4 separate regions of the Homo sapiens genome follow, and regions 2, 3 and 4 are each linked to region 1. The links are contacts of gene promoters, found by promoter capture Hi-C in blood cells and fetal thymus (Javierre and others, 2016). All regions are on one chromosome and are shown on one strand. The core of a region is centred on a gene start or on the middle of the fragment in contact, and the rest is flanking DNA. Distances in the headings are between cores, read along the strand shown.

The links. The method cuts DNA at HindIII sites, captures the fragments that hold promoters and counts their contacts. A CHiCAGO score of 5 or more calls a contact.
Region 2: a contact is called between a fragment that was not itself captured here and the fragment with the promoter of GALNT1 in region 1, in 4 of 17 cell types (M2 macrophages, M0 macrophages, M1 macrophages and 1 more). The highest score is 12.6, in M2 macrophages.
Region 3: a contact is called between a fragment that was not itself captured here and the fragment with the promoter of GALNT1 in region 1, in 8 of 17 cell types (M2 macrophages, erythroblasts, M0 macrophages and 5 more). The highest score is 10.6, in M2 macrophages.
Region 4: a fragment that was not itself captured here is called in contact with the fragment with the promoter of GALNT1 in region 1 in 2 of 17 cell types (M2 macrophages and neutrophils); the score reaches 5.7 in M2 macrophages.

What each region holds. Positions count from the first base shown.
Region 1 is chr18:35,579,952-35,583,536 of GRCh38, reverse strand. GALNT1 (polypeptide N-acetylgalactosaminyltransferase 1) reads right to left here and starts at 1,797. Exons shown (of 12, transcript NM_020474.4): 1 at 1,675-1,797. RefSeq lists a silencer at 2,056-2,755. The HindIII fragment of the contact is 12,017 bases long and covers 55-3,585 here.
Region 2 is chr18:35,396,797-35,400,381 of GRCh38, reverse strand. It overlaps LOC105372063 (a long non-coding RNA gene), which reads left to right. Exons shown (of 3, transcript XR_935376.3): 3 at 2,827-3,324. Among named protein-coding and RNA genes, the nearest start is that of ZNF396, 21 kb to the right of the region's middle. The HindIII fragment of the contact is 318 bases long and covers 1,429-1,746 here.
Region 3 is chr18:35,417,364-35,420,948 of GRCh38, reverse strand. No RefSeq gene overlaps it. Among named protein-coding and RNA genes, the nearest start is that of ZNF396, 42 kb to the right of the region's middle. The HindIII fragment of the contact is 2,773 bases long and covers 674-3,446 here.
Region 4 is chr18:35,437,371-35,440,955 of GRCh38, reverse strand. It overlaps LOC124904284 (a long non-coding RNA gene), which reads left to right and starts at 1,785. Exons shown (of 2, transcript XR_007066341.1): 1 at 1,785-2,189; 2 at 2,667-3,585. The HindIII fragment of the contact is 1,644 bases long and covers 932-2,575 here.

The sequences.
Region 1 (3,585 bases), core at 548-3,047:
CTTCAGTGATACATGGCTGGAAAAGGAAGCCACAATCTCTGCTCTCATAAAGCTTAAACTCTATTGAGAAAGCCAGGCATTTAACAAGTATTTGCATAAATGGTGAGTGCTCCCAAGAGTTTTGCAGTCTGCTGCTTAAGAGGCACCAAACAAACCAGCAGAGCAGTCATTAAACGCAGTTATCACCAGCACGCTGAACAAAGGCTTCTCAGGTTTCAAAGTGCACACAAATAACTTGAAATCCTGGTAAAGCAGATACTGATTCAGTTGATGTGCAGCGGGGCTTCACATTCTGCATTACTTGAGTCTGAGGTGACAGGGATGCTGCTGGTACACCATCCACACTTGGAATAGCAGGACTCGGAGTACCATGGAAACATCCTCAAAGGATCATGTAAAATGTCAATTCCAATAGGGCAAGGACATTGTGTCTCCCTTATTCACCATGTACCCAGAACTTAAAACTGTGCCTCATAGACAGATCGCATTCAGTAAATATTTACTGACACAACAAATGTATGTATAATTTAGACCAGGGCTGTTCAACTGTAGCAAAGAACCACATTTAGCTATGGAACACTTGAAATGTGGCTACTGTGACCGAGGAGCTGAATTTTTAAAATTTAATTTTAATAGTCACATGTGGTTAGTGGCTCCCACGCTGGACAGTCCAGGTCTGGACACAGATGTGATGTAAAGAGGACTGGACTAACAAGGTCTAGGTTTGAATCCCAACTCTGCTGCTCAGATTGTGACCTGAAAAGTTGCAACTTCTTAGGGCCTTCACTATTTCATCTGTGAAATGACAAGACCTCCTAACTCTCAGCGTTCTTGACACGATTATAAAGCAATGTATTAAACATAAGATATGATCAAAGTGACATTCTCTGCCCTCCAGAAACAGTTCAGAAAGACTACTTTGCCTATTGCCCACTTGACCAAAAAAATGCCAAGTGAGTTTGGTAGACGGGTTGGTTAGCTCAGTGGCTTTGAGAATGAGGACAAGGTCACAAATCTGGGGAGTAAGGGAACCTCATCTAGCAAGGCTGACCAGATAAGAGAAGCAATGACAATGCAAATCATCCCAATTCCTGGTAAATGCTTAAATGGGCAACGTATTGATTATGGATGAGTAAATGACATCTCATTCATTCATTCTTCCAGGAAAAGCGGAAAAGCTACTACATTACCTAAAGCCCGCTACTTCCCAACCACAAACATTTGCTAATTTAGGTCCGGGTCCTCCTCGGGGGCAGCGGGCCGGGAAGCCCCCTCCCCCGCTGCCGGCGTGTCTTCCCCTCCCCCGTGGCGCCGCGAGGGTCAGGCTGGCACCGCGGTTGCAAGTACCACACGGCCGAACCCAGAAGCCATATTTAGCTTTATTTTTGTCAATAAAACAAACTTCCGTCTTCTAAAGAAAAACGGTTCTAACTCAATGTCAAACTAGGACGGAAACTCGCTGCTCGCCAAAGCTGCCAACCAGAGACGCCGCGTGTCCAACGGCACCGGGGTCCCAGACCCGAACCCGCGCCGAGCGTGCCCGCGCCCCGGCCCCAGGCAGCGCCGGCCACAAAGGGACCGGGGACGCGGCCGCGGCGGGGCCTCTTTCTCCACCTCCGACCCGCGCGCAGCGCTGCGGCTCCGGGACTGCCCAGCCGCGGGCGATACACTCACCTCGCTAGGCGCGCGGCGGCGGCGGCGGCAGGCGTCCTCCGGGCCGGCCGCGGCGGTCGCGGCCGGTCCCGCGGCCAGCGCGCTACTCTCGGGCCGCCGTCCGCCGCGCGCTCCTCGGCCACTGCCGGCGGCTCCCCCGGCGGGCGGGCGGGTCCGGCCGGGCCCCGCTCCGCCGCGCCCGCCCCCGCCTCCGCGCCCGGCTCGGGTCGGCGGCTACTCCGGGCGCCCCGCTCGCGGGCTCGGGCGGCGCTACTCCGGGCCGCCCCGCATGCGCGCCGCCTGCCCGCTCACTTGGGGCTCGTCGCGCGGCGGGCGCCGCAGGGCGCCCGCAGGCGCTCGGGCGCGGTCCTCCCTGCGCTGCGTGCTCGGCGGCAGCGGCGGCGGCGGCCCGTGCGGCTGCGCGGGGGAGGCGGGGGCGCCGGCGCTCACCCGGATGCGCGCCCCCTCCGCTGCGGCGAGCCCACCGCGGGGCCGCGACGCTCCCCTCGGGCTCGGGACTCCGGGGTCGGGCGCGGCGCCCCTCCCGGACCGACCGCCCAGTCCCGGCCCCCGCTCACACGGCTACGGGCAGGGCCGGGCCAGGCCGAGAGGTGCCCCCGACCCTGGGTCGGGACAAAGAGGCTGCCGCAGCAAGTTAAAGACAACTCGGGCTGTTGCGCGTCGAGCAGGTCACGGGGTGGGAGGAGATGGAGGAGCCCTCACAGCGGATCGGCTCCCGGGCCGAGCGCGGGGCCGCCCCAACCCGGTCGGCTGCCTGAGGCGGCCGCGAGCGCGGGAGCTGGAGCGCTGTCAGCCGCGCTGAGCCTGCGCCTGGCGACCGCGATGCAGGAGGCCCGGGACTGAGGGAGGACGGCGAGAGCGGAGGCCCGCGACCCGCACCGCCGGGGCAGGCACCCGGGTCTCGGGGGCAGCAACGCCGGGGCCCTTGCAGAACGGGGACTGTTTGGGGAAGTGGCTCCCGCACAGTGCCCGGAGAGGGGCCCTCCCTCTGTGCCCCCTTGGGAAACACTGCTTGGTACAATTCCAATACCCAGCTGTACCCTGCCCTGAAGATAGAAGACAAAACCCTGGCTCTGTCACTCACGCGAGGCATAACCAACCATTCTTTTAATAAATTAATTTTCTACTTAAATAATTCAGAGGTTTGTGTCTTATTGCTTGCCAACCAAGAGCTGCAATAAGAGATTACTTAATATTTAAGTGGTCCCACTTTTAAATTTATATTACCTCTCACATAACCAAAAGGCTGTCCGAAAAAAAAAAAAAAAAACCTGAAGATTATCTCTGGAATTTTAGTATCCTGTTTTTGCTTGTCTACATCTTCCAAGTATTCTAAAATAAAAGTTAAAAGTTACTATTTTAAAAGTACTTATATAATATTTTGAAACAAAGTCAATCATGACTAGCCTGTTACTGTTCCACAAGGAAACTTCACTTTGGAATAAAGTTGTCATCGTTAAAAAATACTCTTATCTTGGGAGAAAAGATTGGCAAATCATATATCTGTTAAAGGACTTGTAGCCAGAATGTATGAAGAACTCTTACAACTCAGTAATAAGACTAATAGTCCAATTTTAAATGGGCAAAACAATTGAATAGACGTTTTACCAAAGATATTTAAATGATCAACAATTACATAAAAAGGTGTTCAACATCATTAGTTAATAGGGAAATGCAAATTAGAAGCACAACAAGGAAGTTCTTGACACCCACTACACTGGCTGTAGTACAAAAGACAGACAGACAATAGCAGTGTTGGTGAAGAGATGGAGAAATTAGAACCCTCATACGTTGCCTATGGAAATGTAAAATGGTGCAGCCACTTTGGAAAACAGTTTTCCAGGTTTTTTAAAAAGTTACACATGAAGTATTCTATCACCCAACAATTCCACTCCTAGGCGTATGCCTGAG
Region 2 (3,585 bases), core at 338-2,837, 180 kb after region 1:
TGAAAAGAAAATGTATTCAGCAGTTGTTGGGTGCAGTATTCTGTATATTCTGTATATATTAAATATATATTCTATATTCTGTATAGAAATCCAGTTTATTAATTGAATTGTTCAAATCTTCTAAATTTTTGCTGAGTTTTTTGTCTGCTCAATTCTATGTTTCCAAGAGAAATACAGGATATTAGCTACAAGACTTCTGTACATGCTAAATAACAGTGACTTAAACAAGACAGAGAGTTTATTTCCCCTTGGTGTGAAAGTCTCAGTAGGTGGGTGAACAAGGAGTGTATGTGTCTCTGCAACTTACTATTATTCAGGGATCCAGGTTATTCTATCTGTGGCTTCAGCCAACCCCTACAGGGTTGTTCACATCTACCAGGTAGAAATAGGCCAATCATTTGCATGACCATTTTCTACTTTATAGAAATAAAATGTAAGCTGAGAGCAAGGAGCTTTCTTTTCAGGATATGAGTGGGAAGTTACTTACACACATGGTCACACCTTGCTGCATGGGGGGCTGGGAGGTGTTTTGCCCTTGAGTGGCTGTATTCATTTCCTACTGCTGCTGTTACAAATTACCACAAACGTGGTGACTTAAAACAGCATGAATTTATTGTTTTACAGTTCTAGAAGTTAGAAGTGTAAAATGGTCTAACTTGGCTAAAACAAAGGTGTTGTCAGGGCTGTGCCAACAGCCTTGGAGCCTTCTAGAGGCTACATGAGAGAATCTGTTTCCTTGTCTTTTCCAGCTTCTAGAGATCGCCTACATTCCATGGCTCATGGCCCCTTCTTCCACCTTCACGTCCAGCAATGTAGCACATTCGTTTCTCTGACTCCAACCTCTTCTTCTGCCTCCCTCTTCCATTTAAAGACCCTGTGCTTACACTGGACCCACCAGGATTATCCAAGATAATTTCTTATTTTTAAAGTTAGTTAATTAGCAACCTTAATTCCATCTGCAATCTTAATTCCCCCATGCCAGGCAACATAACATAGTCACAGGTTTCAGGGATAGAACATGGCCATCTTTGGAGAACATTAGTCTGTCTACCACACCTGCCATTCTCAATGTGCTTGCATTTCATTTTTTGCTTTATTATCTCATGATTTCCAAACCGTGCAGCTTCAAGCATCACTTTCTTACACAACTGCATTGAAGTCAGGAAGAAAATGGCAAGGGGGAAAGGGCTTTCCTTTTATCAGGAGCAAAGTCTTTCCCAAATGCTTTCCAGGTCATTTTTTCCTTTGTTCTCATTGCTAATAACTGGATCTCTTGGCCATTCATCCTAGCAACAAATGAGGCTGGAAATGTAAGTAGGTAATAAAAAGAGAAGGAGTTGGATTACAATGACTGGTTTCAAAAAGAGAGAACTGCTATTGGGCAGGCATCTAATGGTGCCTGCTCAGAAAGCCACCAGCTCCTAAGCTTTAGTCACCTGCCTTCCCGTTTTCTAGTTTTCTCATTCTACTAGCCTGTCACACTTTAACTCATGCTAGCATGCATTTTCCCCACTAACTATTGTTTATGCTATGAACTTTGTATTTGAGATCCTTCAGATGTCAGCTTTGAATTTTCAAAGATGAATTTTTATAACTCAAGAAAAGAAAGGAAAGGAATGAGGAAATTTCTCAAAAAGCCCACTATTTAAAAAGATAAATGTTCTATTGGAATTTTTAAAATATTGGTTTTAAAGACTATTGTTCCCACTATGTGGTTAAAAAAACTATTTGGAAAAACTCTAAGCTTTTCTGTCCCTTGAAACAATACCCACTTCAGGCTCATGACTTGAGTGATAGAAAGGCTATGAGGTGAGAAGGAAATTTACTGAGAACAGCATCATCAGAAGTTGCTGTTTCAGAGTCTTATCCTATCACAAACGTCTCTACTTAATGCCTCCTTTCTGCTCCTCTAATTTAGTCATCAGCTGATTGCAATCTTCACGTTCACTCAAAGCCTTCCCTGTAAACAGTTCTAGGAAAGGGGACCAAGGATCTTCATACTGTCCAATTCGATGAAGATTTTCTTGGTCCTGGGCAAAGAAGCCCTGGAAGAAGCCCCCATGGCAGACTCCTAGGACCTAGGAGAGGCCTCTGCTCCTGAAGCCACTGAGGAGCAAGCCTCCAGCCTCCAGGATGCTCTGAAGCACAAAAGGAATGAATCCTGGAGAGGAGCTCAGCCCTAGCTCAATGGTTAACAGGCACTTCCTGTCTGCAGAGAGGATTCAGTGGGATGGTGTGTATGAGGCACTTGTCACAGTAGTATCAAGTGCCTATGAAATGTGAGCTATTTTGTTGCTAGGATTAGTAAGTTGATTTCTGATACAGGAAAAGGAGAATCTACTACTTACGCTCCTTGGCTGTCTTGTGTGGGAAACAATTTGGAAATGTATAAAATCTGTATTCCTCTCCAGCCTTCATTATCTCAGAGGAAAGAGTGTCTCTCTTTCTATAGCACTATAGAAAGGTGGTCACTGTCACTATAAGGCAGTTCCTTCAGCAGGGAAAATATCTTTTGTTAACTGTAATTGGAGCCACATTTTAATAATGTTAGAAGTTCAGTCTCCTTATTCTGAGTTCCTCTAAGTGCTCTATAAAACAAAGCATTATTTTAAAATAAATGTGACTATGTGCATGATAGTGTTACAGCAGCCTTGCAAATTACTTAGGAAATTTCATTATGTTTCCATGTATAAAACTATGTTATTAAGTATTGCCCTCCTTTAGGAGACATCTATGACCCAAGGAAGTTTTGCAATTTGCCATTCCTAAATGATTTCTGAGGAGGGAAACTCAGAGTAATAACTGTTTTGCTGTTTCACTCCACAGCCATGATGACTGTTGAATTTTAATAAAGGTACTGTACTGGGTTGCAAATGAAAGAGAAATAAGTATAAATATAAAGGAAGAAGAGAACACTATCCACAGAGAGCAGGAATTCCAGCCTGGAGTGAAGTAACTGCCATGAACCACGTGTCTTTCCAAAACATGCCAGGAAATTTTGCTATCCAGATTCACCTGGACCTCGTAAGTCTCTTTCTGGACCCTTCAAGGACCCTGTCAACAGTGGCTGAAACCAGAAATGTACCTGAAAGGGCAGCTTCTAGTAGAACTGTAACAGTTTCTGGCCTTTCTGTCTAGGGAGCTTCAGCCCACCTCCAGGAACAGAGACCATAGATTGAAGAAGCTGAAAGTCTGCTGGAGATCTGTTTTTCCAAGAGTGGTTCAAGAATCATTAGGGCACTCCAGTAAGAGCTCATTGTGGCTTTATTTTTTTATTTTATTTTATTTTATTTTGAGACGGAGTCTCGCTCTGTTGCCAAGGCTGGAGTATTGTGGCACAATCTCGGCTCACTGCAACCTCTGCCTCCCGCGTTCAAGCGATTCTGCTGCCTCACCCTCCCGAGTAGCTGGGATTACAGGCACACGCCACCACACCCAGCTAATTTTTGGATTTTTAGTAGAGACGGGGTTTCGCCATGTTGGCCAGGCTGGTCTCGAATCCCTGACCTCAGGTGATCTGCCCACCTTGGCCCCCTAAAGTGCTGGAATTACAAGCGTGAGCCACCGTGGCCGGCCCCGGCTAGC
Region 3 (3,585 bases), core at 811-3,310, 160 kb after region 1:
ATAGCACAGAAAAAGCATTAGACAAAATCCAACATCAATTTTTGTGGGTTTTTTTTTTTTTGAGATGGGTTTACACTTTGTTGCCCAGGCTTGAGTGCAGTGGTGTGATCTTGGGTCTTGGCACAATCTCCACCTCCCAGGCTCAGGTGGGTCTCCCACCTCAGTCTTCTAGGTAGCTGGGACCACAGGCACATACCACCTTGCCTGGCTAATTTTTGTATTTTTGGTAAAAACAGGGTTTTGTCATGTTGCTCAGGCTGGTCTCAAACTTCTGAACTCAAGCTATCTGCCCACCTGAGCCTCCCAGTGCTGAGATTGCAGGTGTGAGCTACTGTGCCCAGCTGATTCTTGTGGGCTTTTTTGTTTGTTTTTTTGTGAAAAAAAATCCAAATCTTAGCAAACTAGGAATATGAGGGAAATTCTTCAACCTGATAAAGGCCATCTATGAAAGACTTAGAGTTAACATTATACTTAATGGTGAAAGACTGAAGGCTTTCCCCTAATATTAGGAACAGGACAAGGACAACATTTAACATTGCACAGGAGATTATGGCCAGTGCAATAAGAAAGAAAAGTAAGAAACGGAAACAAAAATAAATTCCTTTTTTATATACTAGGAATGAACAATCATATATTGATATTAAAATACAATGTTTCCAAAAAATGAAAAGCTTGGGATACATCTGACAAAAGATGTGAAAGAGCTCTACACTGAAAAATATAAAACAATGCTGAGATAAATAAAAGAAAATCTAAATAAAAGGAGATTATATTTTGTTCGGTGGTAAGAAAACACAACATATAGTTGTGATGTCAATTCTCCCTAAATTAATCTATATATTCAATTCAATCTCAAAATCCAGTATTATTCATATAGAAATTGATATTTTGATTCTAAAATTCACATAGAAATGCAAAAACCTGAAATATTCAAACAACTTTGAAAAATAAGAGAAAAATTGCGGTTAACTCTACCAGACTTCAAGACACTGTAATGCTGTGATAGTCAAAACAGTGTTGTATTGGCATAGCAATAAACAATCAGATAAATGGAACAGAATACAGAGTCCAGATATAGACCCAAACATACATTGACAAAGGATTTTTGACAAAGGTACAGGGAAATCCAGTAGAGAAAAAGTATCTTAGTTCATTCAGGCAGCTATAACAAAAATACCTTAGACTGAGTAATTTATACATAATAGAAATGTATTGCTCACAGTTCTGGAGGCTGGGAAGTCCAAAATCAATGCACTATCAGATTTAGTGTCTGGTGAGGGAATGATCTCTTTTTCCAAGGTGGCACCTTGTTACTGCATCCTCACATGGCAGGTCAAGGCTGTTCCCTTCAACCTCTTTTATAAGGGCAGTAATCCCATTCATGGCATCTCTGCCTCATGACTTAATCACTTCCTAAAAGTCCCACCTCTCAATACTGTCAGATTTGTGATTAAATTTCAACATCTGAATTTTGGGAGGACACATCCAGATCATTGCAGATAGCCTTTTTAACAAATGATGCTGGAACAATTGCATATCCACATGAAAACAAATGAACTATTCATACTTCACACTATATATAAATATTAACACAAAATGGATCTATATTAGTCCATTCTTACACTGCTATAAAGAACTGCCCTGGACTGGGTAATTTATAAAGAAAAGAGGTTTAACTGACTCACAGTTCCATATGGCTGGGGCCTCAGGAAACTTAAAATCATGGTGGAAAGGGAAGCAGGCATGTCTTACACGGTTGCAGGCGAGAGAGAGAATGTGTGAGAGTGCAGGAAAAACTACCATTTATAGCCATTTATAAAACAATCAGATGTCATGAGAATTCACTCACTATTACGAGAACAGCATGGGGGAAATGGCCTTCATAATCCAGTCACTTCCCTCTCTCAACACATGGGGATTAAAATTCGAGATGAGATTTGGGTGAGGACACACAGCTAAACCATATCAGGGTCATTGACTGTGGTAAGAAGAATTACGTCCACCAAAAAGTTTCTATACCCTGATCCCCAAGACTGAATATGTTACATAGCAAAAATGACTTTGCAGAGGTAATTAAGGTTACTAATCAGCTGACTTAGAATAGGGAGGCTACCCTGGATTTCCACGTGGTTCCAATGTAATCCACATGTGTCCTTAAAAGCAGAAGAAAAAGACAGAAATGGAAGTTAGAGGGAGTCAAAGCATGAAGAGTCAGTGTACCATTGCTTGTTTGAAGATGGAGCTTGGCCATGTGAGAAGAAATACGGACAGCCTTAAATTGCTGAGAGAAAGGCCCTTGGCTAATAGCCAGCAAGGAACAGAGATCTCAGTCGTATGACCATAAGTAATTGAATTACTTCAATAAGTAATTACTTTGGCCAACTTCAATTACTTGTGTAATTACTTCTTGAAGTAATAAGGAACTGTTGATTCATGCTACAAGATGGATGAATTTCAAAATTATCAAGCCAAATGAATGTAATTACTTACTGAAGTAATTACACAAGTAACTGAAATTGGCCAAAGACCTTAGTTTGCTTGGAAGAGGACCCAAAGACACAGAACTGCAGCTTTAGCCAATAACTTGATTTTAGCCCAAAGAATACAGTCATGCCATGCTGGATTTCTAACCTATAGAAACAGTAAGATAATAAATTTGCATTGTTTTAAGCTGCTACATTTCTGGTAATTTGTTATGCTGCAGTAGAAAAGTAGTAAATAGGCCTTAATTTAAAACCTAAAACCACAAAACCTCTAGAAGAAAACATGAAATGTTCATCATAAACTTGAGTTAAGCAAAGACTTATATACAACACTTACACACCACACTTCTTATATACACAATTCCTTTACATACAGACGCGTTTCATAAAAGAACAATTTGATAAAGTAGACCTCATCCATAAAACAGTTGTTCTTCAAGAGACTGTTATGAGAATGAACATACAAGCCAGAGACTAGGAGAAAATATTTGTAAATTACATATATAATAAAGAACTTCTATCTGGAATATATGTAGACTTCTCAAAGCACAATAAAAGAAAAACAGACAAACCAATTTTAAAAGTAGGCAAAAGGCTTAAACACTCATTTCACTGAAGAGGATACATGAATGGCAAATAAGCAAAATATGCCCAACATCTTTGTAATTAGGAAAATGAAAATTAAAACCACAATAAGATACCTCTGCACTCCTGCTAGAATGGCTAAAATTAAAAAGACTAATCATACAACCTGCTGGTAAGGATTTGAAGGAACTAGAACTCTTACACTGCTTGTGGGAATGTAAAATTATACCAACACTTTGAAAAACAGTCTGGCAACTTCTTAAGAAGTTAAACATATACCTACCCTCTAACCCAATCATTTCTTTCCCATGTACTTACCCAAAAGAAAAGAAAGCATATGTTCCTGCAAACAATTTTATGCAAATGTTCATAGAAGCTTTATTTGTAATAGCCAACAACTGAAAACAACTCAACTGTCCACTGACCAGTGAATGGGTAAATAAATTGTGGTATATCCATACAGTGGAATACTACTCAGCAATAAACAGGAAGGAATTGTTGATTCGTGCTACAAGAT
Region 4 (3,585 bases), core at 504-3,003, 140 kb after region 1:
TTATCTCACAATAAAAACTTTAATTTTTAAAAAATAGGGTGGCCAAGGTGGGCTCACTGAGAGGGTGATATTTCAGCTAATACTTGAAAGAGGTGAAAGAGATGGCCGTGCAGGTATCTGGGGAGACAGTGTCCCTGGCAGAGGCCCCAATTCAGGTGAGCACCTGGCCTGCTCAGTGGCACTAAGGAATTGGTGTGATGAACAAGGTGATGCATCAGGGACATAGCTGGGGCTGGACCCAGGGGCCCCAGTAGGCATGGTAAGGTCCTGGGCTTTTACTATTAGTGGTCTGGGGAGCCTCAGAGGGTTCTGAACAGCAGAGTGATGTGGGCTGACTTCGGTTTCAACAGATTCCTCTGGCTGCTGAGTAACTAGACTACAGGGGCCCATGGGGGACAAAGCTGGCATCACTGTTAGACAGTTCACCACAAGTGGGCAAGCAAGTAAAATAGTGAGGAATAATAATGAATGTTATGAGACAAGCAAAGAACGGGCTGGGGAGGATGCATATGGGGAGGGGAGACAACGTCGCTCCCTTAAGGAAGAAGGTGACACTTAGGCGAGGCACAAAGTAGGAGAAAGAGCCGGGTTAGAGAGTTCCCAGTGGAGGCAACAGCCTGTGCAAGAGCCCTGAACAGTGTGGGGAGGAGGAAAGACAGGGTCCAGAGACGGAGTCACTTGCCACCATCGTCACCGGTCAGCCATCCCTGCTTGGCCTCTCCCAAGGATAGCACTTTGCATCCAGGGCACTGGCCTCACACTCCTGCCGTTTTCCTCAGAGTCACAGAGCCAGGTCTGGATAGCACTTCGCTAGGGGCCCAAGAACAGCCCTGATTTCACAGTGAGCATGAGTTATACCTTCCTCTGTGAGGGTGAGAAGTTGTGGGAAAAATGAAACTCAATCTATTAAATGTGTCTGCTTCCCAAAGCTTCAAACCCACACATGGCAGGACCTGGTAGCCCAGGAGAGAAGGACAGGGCAGGTGGGCTTTTGTCCCAGATAGCAGACACAGGACTGCTATCTTGGATATGTAGAAGTCAAAGTCGGAGTGAACAGACTTTAACAAAATATGCATATCATGTTTATCAGTTTTCTGGGGCCGCTGTAACAAAGCACCACAAACTGGCTGGGCTGAAATGACAGAAACTTATTCTCTCAGTTCTGAAGACTAAATGTCTAAAACCAAGGTACAATCAGGGCATACCCTCCCTAAAGTTCTTAGGGGTGGATCCTTCCTTGCTTCTCCCAAATTCTGATAGCCCCAGGTATTCCTTGGCTTATGGTAACATAAGTCCAATCTCAGCCTCCATTTTCACACACTGGCCTCTCTCTGTGTCTTCGCATCACATCATCTTCCTTTTTTTTATTTATTTATTTTTATTTATTTTTATTTTATTTTATTTTTGAGATGGGGTTTCACTCTTGTTGCCCAGGCTAGAGTGTAATGGCGCAATCTCAGCTCACTGCAACCTCCGCCTCCCAGGTTCAAGCAATTCTCCTGCCTCAGCCTCCCGGGTAGCTGGGATTACAGACACCTGCCACCACGCCCAGCTAATTTTTTTGTATTTTTAGTAGAGATGGGGTTTCACCATGTTGGCCAGGCTGGTCTCGAACTCCTGACCTCAGGTGATCCACCCACCTCGGCCTCGCAAAGTGCTGGGATTACAGGCATGAGCCACACCGCCCGGCCTCTTCCCTCTTCTTATAAGGACACCAGTCATATTAAATTAGGGCCCACCCTAATGACCTCATTTTCACTAATTACATCTGCAATGACCTTATATCCAAATAAGGTCACACTCTGAGGTACTGGGGGTAGGACTTCAGTGGATCCTTTTGGAGAACATAGTTCTGACCATAGTCATGTCACACCAGGAAAGAGACAGTGATGAGAAAGGACTGGCAGCTTTTGCTTTGCGGGATCAAGTCACAGATTTTGCTCCAGAGAAGCCATTCTGAGCTCATGTCCACACCCTGGGTCTGCTGACTCTGAATCACTCCCACTAATACCTTTAAAAATATGCTTCAATCTGAGTGCTTCTGTTATTGATTTTGTGTAAAACTTATTTTTATGCTCTTAAGCCAGGAAATTTTTGTTAGAGGTACACTGCTTTACAGGCACACAAGGCTGAATGACTGGTCTTTTATCCCTTCCTCTGCCATGGCCACAACACCTCCCAGTTGGGAAGTAAGTGGGGGTAGATAAGGCCAGGACAGATTCTGGAAGGCCCAGGAAGCCAGGGGAACTTGGACTGGCTTAGGGAGGCAGTAGGGAGCCATTCAGGTCCCCAGCAGGGGAGTGATATGGGAGACACAGAGTTCCCAGGGCTGGGCAGGGCAGGATGAAGGAGACAAAACAGGGCAGTGAAGTGTAAATGACAGGAGCAGGAATTAAGCCATCAAGATGAAGTTGCAAGCATATTATCTGATATTTTCAGACTTGGGGAGACAAAGATGAACCTGAAGCTCCTCTTTGGGAGACAGTGAGACTCAGGGAACGATGTGTTGTCAGTGATAAAAACGAGGGCATGCAGGAAAAATAGGGAAGGAGAGCTTTAAGAAGAAGGGGAAGCTTAATGGCTTCAAACTTCATCTGAAGGCAAGTGTGTGGTGGTTCTTGAAGAAAAACCTTCTTCTTCAGATGTCTTCTTCCTCCTCTTCACAGATGGCTCTTTGCTCTGCTTCCAGGATCCTGGATGTCTCAGTCTCCCCAGGTGATCATGTGGCCTCAGAAGCCAGAGCTAGATGTGCTCCTGATCTTGTAGCCCCTCGTCCTATGCCTCATCAAAACCAGGGGTCATTGGAATGGACTGAAGAAGGAGAAAACTAGAAAGGATCTGAGGGAAGTGGTCTGGCTGAAAGCTTGACGTGGACAGAGTCCTGGCTCTCAGGCAGACACTTAAATTCTCCTGGTGCTGCAGACATCACAGCTGAATCCATTTAAAAGAGGATGGCAAATATATAAATCATGACCTCAAAATTCCTTCAATCTCTCACAGGACACCAGGGAAATATTTTATTATCCCTCAATAACAACCAGGGTCAGGAATAAATTTGGAATTCTTTAATTTAGGCTCCAGTTCATTTGCTAAATTAAATGCTTGAAATAATTTCCTGCTATGAAAATATGAGACTCTTACTATTCAGATAAATAGACTTTTCAAATCAAAGGCTTGAAATCTTAAGAATTATCTCAAAATGCCTTTTGAAAAACCTTTTCTGTTTTGGATCATAAAATGTCAAAGGCACACTATCATGAACCACAGTTTCTCTAAATTTAGCTTTACTTATTAGTATGCAGTCATATCTAAGTTAATAAGATGTCATGCTTAAAATAATAAAATCCATTTCTTTGGAAATATACTGTATATAGATGGGACTACCAGCTATGAAGGAGTGAAGCGGTTAACAAATCCTCTCCCTGCAAAGCAATTATAAAGCTGGACAAAATTGTCGAAAACAATTATTTCAGGGCTCTGGAAATTGACAAGGGGCAAGCAAATTGAGAAATTTATGTTCTCAAGAAACTATGGAGATTCAAGTAAACACAGTGGAAATACATGGCATTCTTGCTGAAACTGCCT